2 separate regions of the Homo sapiens genome follow, and region 2 is linked to region 1. The links are contacts of gene promoters, found by promoter capture Hi-C in human tissues and cell types (Jung and others, 2019). All regions are on one chromosome and are shown on one strand. The core of a region is centred on a gene start or on the middle of the fragment in contact, and the rest is flanking DNA. Distances in the headings are between cores, read along the strand shown.

What was found. The method cuts DNA at HindIII sites, captures the fragments that hold promoters and counts their contacts. A contact is called where the count stands out against the background at its distance.
Region 2: a fragment that was not itself captured here is called in contact with the fragment with the promoter of FHAD1 in region 1 in 1 of the 25 tissues and cell types used here (aorta).

The regions. Positions count from the first base shown.
Region 1 is chr1:15,244,865-15,248,577 of GRCh38, reverse strand. It overlaps FHAD1 (forkhead associated phosphopeptide binding domain 1), which reads right to left and starts at 1,355. Exons shown (of 34, transcript NM_001391957.1): 1 at 1,183-1,355. RefSeq lists silencers at 1,090-1,329, 1,347-1,520. The HindIII fragment of the contact is 8,594 bases long and covers 1-3,713 here.
Region 2 is chr1:15,308,824-15,312,835 of GRCh38, reverse strand. The region is part of intron 7 of FHAD1 (forkhead associated phosphopeptide binding domain 1); the gene reads right to left. Among named protein-coding and RNA genes, the nearest start is that of FHAD1-AS1, 33 kb to the left of the region's middle. The HindIII fragment of the contact is 6,121 bases long and covers 1-4,012 here.

The DNA.
Region 1 (3,713 bases), core at 106-2,605:
TCATCTCCTTCCAGGGCAAAGGTTGGGCACTGGCTAGCAGCCCCTTTTAAAAGACTGGAGTTTCCTGAGCTTGGGGTTCCTTAGCTGGGAAACAGACTCGCAGTGTGCACAGCATCCACCTGAGCTGTCCTGCATCACCCCGGGGTACTTGCAGGGCAAGGGGAACCAACGCAAACATGAGCTCACAGTGCCTGCTGTGCTGTGAGTAATAACATCCTTTGTCTCTGGTCCTGGAGTCTCTGGTCTTCTGCTAGCATCATTAAGCAGTGGCAGGCTAACTTAGCTTGCAAGTAGTGTAAAAATCTCAGACCCTTTGCATTTCCTCACAGTCTGTTCATTACTCCCCTCTGGCCCCCAGCGCTGCCATGCCTGACACATAGTGGTGCTCAGTAAATCATGAATGAATGAAAGTACAAAACAATGCTTAAAAGTAAGTCAGGGTAGCCTAAGAACCTCTGACAGTAACTACCTTTCATTTTCCCCTTCAGTATTTATCCTAGATGACATTCTGGAAAAAAAAAAAAAAGTCTATTTCTTTAGCTGAATGGGTTGGGCCCTATTTCCCCACTTTAATCTTGCCCTGTGCAGTCACTTTCCTACCTGAAAACACTGTAGAAAGTGATTAGATGCGTTAAACTCTGTAAATTAGTTCTAAGACACAGGGCACCGACCATGCAAAAGAGCAAAAGAGCTTCAGGCATCTGCACTCCCTGCTTATAGGTCACAAGTGAGATAGAGAAGCAAAATTTCTGTTGAGGGGTTACCAGATCTTAAGTGGCCTGGGAGCCCTAGAAATTCCTCAGTGTTGTATTTGGGAAGGGAGAGGTTAGGCAAGGGGGGAGTCTCTCTGACCGCCGGGTGGGTGTCGTTCGTAAGTCAGGGGCAGCAGGGATGCCCCTCCTAATCCCAGCTGTAACCCCCAGGACTTCCCAGAGTGGCATGGCTGGTGCCAAGGAGGGTCTAAGGCTCCCGGGGGCTTCCTCCGCGGGCGGGGTGGGGCCTGCATCTGGAAAGGAGGGGCTGGTGTTGGGGTAGCTACTGGGGTGCTCCTGGGGACCGGAGCCTGGATCCAGGAGGATGGGGCCGGGGAGCCACCCCTCCTCCTGCCAGGGCTAGTCCTCGCTGGGCCGCCCCTTCCGGTCCCCGGTCTCGGCCCGCCACCCCTTCCCGCGCCGCACTCACCTGGCGGGAGGAGGAAGCCCACGCTCCGACCTCCGCCGAGAGCCCTGCCAGCTCGGGAGGCGTCGGGCCAGCTCCGGGGCGAAGCCTCCCGGCCGCGCTCCCGCGGAGTCTCCAGCTCGCACCCGGCACCCCGCCCGCCCGGCCGGCCTGTGTACGCGCGTTGCCATGGCAACGCCGCCAGGCGCCGCGGGGTCCAGCCTAATAGATGAGGGCGTGGCCTGCGCGGCAGAGGGGGCGTGGCACCGTGCAGGGAACGCCCACTGGGTTACCGCCTGCTGAATGCTCCAGGCCCCACGAGCCTGCCCCATTTCACAGATAGGAAAGCGGAGGCTCAGAGGTCACAGAAATGGCCCAAGGTTTTACAGCGAGGAAGGAGCAGGGAGGAGATTTGATTCAAGAATCCTTTCCATTACCCCTCACTGTAAGCTGGATGCGTTGAGGGAGGGTCGGGGGCGATAGGGAGAGGTAGGAGATTGATGGAGCTGAACTCATGAGACCCTTGGAGGTTAGTATGCCCCCTGCCCTACCCAAATCTCTAGTCCTTTCCGTTACAGGCCAGAAAATAGAAAGAGTAAGAAGAGGGGATCTCTGGGAGTGGGGTGGGGATTGGGAAAGGGATGGGGTGGAATGAAAAATTTTGAAAGAATGAGGATTTCTTCCATGTGCTGGGGAAAAAATATTTCCAAACTCACAATCCTGCTGCCTCTGCTCCTCCCTGTTAAGAGTGACATTTATTCATTCTTTTGCCCTTTCTCTATCTCTGCAAACATCTTTTGAGTCCTATGAGTGTCACACGCTGATCCCAGAATACACCTGGAACAGTTACTGTCCTTAAGAAACCGCTTGTCAGCCGGCACAGGACTCGCGGGATGGAGTGTGTTGAGCAGATGTGCAAATCCTATCTCCCGCCACTATCTCCAGCAGGAAATCCTATCTCCTGCTGACTCTACCTGGAGAGTGATTCCTTTCACTGGCAGGAAATGGCTGACCAGACACCTCAAGAAAAACTCTAAACGTTTTTCTAAGAGAGATGAACTATGGCACATTCTACCCTAGTGATACGGTTTGGCTGTGTGTCCCCACCCAAATTTCATCTCGAATTGCACTCCCCACGTGTTGGAAGAGGGGCCTGGTGGGAGGTGATTGAATCATGGGGGCAGACTTCCCGCTTGCTTTTCTCATGATAGCGAGTGAGTTCTCATGAGATCTGATGGTTTAAAAGTGTGGCACTTCCCCCTTTGCTCTCTCTCTCTCCTGCTACACCATGTTACAACATGCTAGCTTCCTTGCTTCCCCTTGGCCTTCCGCCATAACTGTAAGTTTCCTGAGGCCTCCCTAGCAGTGCAGAACTGTGAGTCAATTAAACTTCTTTTCTTTGTAAATTATTCAGTCTCAAGGAATTACTTTATAGCAGTGTGAGAACAGACTAATACACCTAGTCAATAGGAAGAGGATCTGAGAGAGAAATCATGGACATCGATTTGTGGTGGAATATACAGTGAAGATGCTCAAACGTGCCTGGAGGCTTTTAGAAATGCGGACTTCTGGGCACAGACCCCAGAGATTCTGATTTAGCAGGCCTGGGACATAATCCAGGAATGTGCATTTGCAACAAGCTTGACAAAACCCTGATTTATGCAGCTGAACTGCAGAGACCTCTCCCGGAGCCTGTCCCTACAAATCTCTTCCAGGCCCTCAGTCTGGAAGGTTCTGCCTGGATCAGTTTCCTACAACCAGAAAGATTCTAGGCGTAAAATGTTAGGAGGGACCACAAGGGCTGGGACCCAAGTGATGGCTTCACAGGAACAGAGAGGGTCAAGCTCAGCTTCCCACACGTTTCTGCCTCAGAGCCTTTGCTCTTGCCCATTCCTCTGCCTGGAATGCACTTCCCCTCAAGAGTCTCCTTTGCCTTCTTTACTTTAGCTTTTTACTCACATATCATCTTTTCTAAAATTGGTTTTTTGAAACAATGAAACAACCACCATGAAATCTAATAAACAACAAAAAAGAGCAAATAAAAACAATAAGAACAGCAAAAGCAAATAAAAATAAGAACAACAAAAGCAAATAAAAATAAGAACAACAAAAGCACATCCAAACAAAATAAAAACCTCAACACTCTATCCCTCTTCCCTTCTTTTTGCCACTTGCTATAGTTAGAATATTTGACCCCTCCAAATCTCATGTTGAAATTTGCTCCTCAGTGTTGGAGGTGGGGCCTGGCGGGAGGTGCTTGGATCATGCGGGCGAATCCCTCATGGATGGCTTGGTGCTGTTCCTGTAGGGTGCATGAGTTCTCACTCTATCAGTTTCCTAAAGAGCTGATTGTTAGAAAGAGCCTGGCACCTCCCCCTCGCTCACTCTCACTTCCTCTCTCATCATGTGATCTCTGCACATGCAGGCGCTACTTTCTGCCAGGAGTGGAAGCAGCCTGAGACCCTCACCAGAGGCAGATGCTGGCACCATGCTTCTTGTACAACCTGCAGAACTGTGAGCCAAATAAACCTCTTTTCTGGATAAATGACACAGCC
Region 2 (4,012 bases), core at 937-3,436, 63 kb before region 1:
ACATCTGTCGGGGTGCTGTGGGCATCGGCCCTGCCTGGGAACAAAGGCTCAGCAGAGAGAGGGACCAGGAGGGGCCACGACATGGGCCTGTGGCAGCAAGGGACGTGTTGATTCACACTCATCTGAGTTTGGAAACCGTCTCTAGCACTTACTAGCTCAGTCGTCTTTTTTCTTGAGACAGGGTCTTACTCTGTCACCCAGGCTGGAGTACAGTGGCACGATCATGGTTCACTACAGCCTCGACCTCCTGGACTCAGGCGATCCTCCTGCCTTGGCCTCCCAAGTAGCTAGGACTACAGGTACGTGCCACTATGCCTGGCTAATTTTTGTATTTTTTGTAGACATGGAGTTTTGCCCATGTTGCCCAGGCGGGTCTCAAACTCCCAGGCTGAAGCAATCCACCAGCCTCTGTCTCCCAAAGTGCTGGGATTACAGATGTGAGCCACAATGCCCAGCCTAGCTTAGTGGTCTGAAGAAGTTATTTAACCTCTCATTGTATCTACAGAGTTGTATAAAGAACATAGTAGAGTGGCTAACACATAGTGTTTATTCCCTGCCACCCACAAGTATATGTGGTAGCCAGCTTGCAAAATGGCCCCCATGATCCCTGCCTGTTAGAATACCTGGCCTCGTGTAGCCCCCTCCCACCTGAATAGGGCTGACGTGTGTAACTCATATGGCACTGTGGAAGTGGTGAATGTGACTTCCCAGGGTGAATCATCAAAGATGTTGTGGTTTCTTCTTTGCTCTCCTTGGATCACTCAGTCTGGGGAAAGCCAACCGCCATGTTGTGAGGACACTCAAGCAGCCCTAGGGAAGGACACACATGGTGAGGAACTGAGGCCTCCAGCCAACAGCCATGTGAGCGAGTCATTCCAGAAGGGGATCCTCGAGCCCTAGTCGGGCTTTAGATGACATGACAGCAGTAGCTCCTGCAACCTCGTGAGAGACCCTGAGCCAGACTAAGTCACTCCCAAGTTCCTGAACCACAGAAACCGGGTAAGATAAACATATTTGTTGCTTTTTTGGGATAACTTATGTGACAGCAGATAGTCAATATATTATTGTATTATCACATTGAGAAAAAGTGAGAAGAAGGGTGCATAATGCAGTGGTATTGGGTTATCTCATACGGTCCTTTTCTTAGAAAAACATTCATCCTAGTTTTATTGGTGGGTATCAATCAAGAATCAATCTTTATTGCACAATCAAGGATGTGTAATAAAGAACAACATGATTCAGAATTTCATTGTAAAAATGAGCTTCGTCCGGGGACACAGTTAAGTTCCTTAGAAACAGACTGCTCTCTCTGGGGCTTGCCTGCATGCTTTGTGAGGCGGGACCAGAGTGACCTTTTCTCTAGAATGAATTTGGCTTGAGTCTCTACCAGGTGCCCTGTGTAGTGCAAGGTTGCCCCATTCTGGATGGTGGGAAAGTGAGCTACTCTCAGGCCTACGTGGGCTTCGAGATGGTTCCCTCTGCTCCTCCTGGGTGGTTCCTTCCCTGCCCACATGCACGTGCTCATCACACCTGACTCTGCTGAAGACTTGAGGCGGACCCTCTGAGATCTCCGGGGTGCTCTCCGTGCAGCCCCCTCCCGCCTGGCACGCCACCCAGCAAACTCAAGCTGTGCTGGCTTCTCCACCTCCATCTCCTCAAGTCGGGCTGACCACTGGGCTCTGTCTGGCTTCCCCTCCCTGCTGTGGTCTGGAAACTCTCTCCAGCGCAAGCCAGCCGGGGGCAATCGTAGATTTCATCTTGTTTGTTTCCACTCCCTCCCAGATCATCGTCACATGCTTCTTGGGGCCAATAGATGGAAACCATTATTTCAGACATTTTTTTCTGTTTGTTTGGTTTTTGTTTGTTTGTTTGAGTTGTTTCAGGCAGGTGAGGAAATCCGCACCTTGTTCCTCCATCTGCCTCTCTTCCTGTGGAAGATGGGGTTTGTGATGTGTTGTGATGGCTTCTGTGAGCCTGGGTCACTGTGTGGCCACAATGACCAAAGCCCCTACTGACCCATGATGGGCTCAGGGTGGAAGCAGGAGCTGAACCTGTCTATTGTGAGCCACTGAGACTTGGGGGACTGTTTGTCACTGCAGCGTAACCCGGCCCAGTGCTTCTCGAGCTTAAGTGTGCACAAGCAGCAGCCGGGAGGCTTGTGAAAATGAAGATTCTGATCGGAAGGTCAGGAGTGGGGCCTGAAATTCCCAGTTTCTCACAAGGATCCAGGTGATGCTGATGCTGCTGGTCCAGGGACCACACTTGGGGCCGTGAGAGTGTAGCCCATCCCAGGCCATACCTGAGCCCAGGTCTGTCTGACTCCTTGATTAGAGGAGTGGTGTCTGAGACAGGCTTGTAGCGTGGATGGGGTGTGATGGACAGACGCTGGGGAGGAGGGCAGGGCCCAGCGAGATCCCCCTGGGATGCCTGGTGCCCAGAGCAGCCCTGCCCATAGGGCTCACAAGTATCCAAGAACATTCCATGTTAGGGAAGAACAGAGGTAGAAGCCTGGAGTGGGGAGGGGGACTGCAGAGTGAGGCAGAGGGAAAGCCACGGCCAGGCGGCCTGGGTCCTGCGGAGACAGCGATTGTGTCTGACTCAATGCTACGCTCTGCTTTCACAGCCACGGGCATGTTTCCTGCTGTGCAGGGGGGACTTTAGGAGCAATATGCCCAATCTGGACTCATTCCCTCTCCACCACCTGCTTTTCTCTCTTCCCCCTTTCTCTGTCCATGGCCCTATCATCTGCAGGTCTCGAGACATGCCATTCTCTGCCTTAAAAACCCTAACGTGTCCCATCACACTTAGAAGAAAACCTGAACCCCTCCCATGTAATGTGGCCCTGCCTCCCCCCTGACCCCACCAGGTCCCATAGCCCCTTGTTCCCTGACTCCAGCCACACTCGCCGGCAGTTGATCCAACACCGTGGCTTGGTCCAGCCTCGGGGCCTTTGCACCTGTGCTCTCTGCCCAGCATACCGTTCCCAGGGGCCTCCCGACAGCCCCTCCCACCTCCTCAGAGATATCCCTGCCCAGGCACTAAGCCAGGGATGTCCAATCTTTTGGCTTCCCTGAGCCACACTGGAAGAAGAAGAAGGGTCTTGGGCCACGCATAAAATACACTCACGCTAATAATAACTGATGAGCTAAAAAAAAAAATCGCTAAAAAAAAAAAATCTCATAATGTTTTAGGAAAGTTGAGGAATTTGTGTCGAGCCTCATTCAAAGCTGTCCTGGGCCATATGTGGCCCGCAGGTCGTGGGCTGGACAAGCTTGCACTAAGCTATTCTCCTTCACTTCACCCCCTGAGTGCTTCCCCACCACGGTGTCCAGCTTTATTTCCTCTGGAGCACTGATCTCTCTCTGGTATGGGCTTGTTCATTTATCTTTTTACTTCTTATTGTCTGTCATCCTCTCCCAAGTGTGAGCCCCATGAGCAGAGGGGCAGAGGGATCTTGACTGCTCAGGGCTCTCTCTCCCCAGTGCCTAGAACAGTGCCTGGCATCTAGCAGCTGCTCCATAAATGTGCTGAATGAATGAATGAATGAATGAATCCAGGCTAAGAAACAGCTGTGCCTGGCAAGGGTGGGCCATGAGTTGGCTGCCCCCTTGCCCACCCAAGTTCTTGAGTATCCAGCTACCTCTCAATTAGCAAAATGCTTTCGCTCCGGCCCAAGAGCACCAGTGTGAGATGGGTAAGAGGCTGGGTGCCTTAAACTGGCAACCCCATTTTAGCCACATTCTAGTTTGCATTCACAGCAAACTGGCTCATGGGACTGCCTGAGCTGCAGCTTGTCCTGTGTGTTCCCTGGTGAGGTCCATGCTCAGCAGGCCTTTTAGCTAACAGATAACATTTGCTCAAATATTTATCAAGGGCTCACTCCAAACCAGGCCCTATGCTAGGAACTGGATGGCACATAAACCTCTGAGGGTGAACTCAGATTCATGGACAGGAACTGCCTAAAGGGCTGCTGGGAAGAACTCTGAGGCTGCAGCCAAGTTCAGTAACAAAA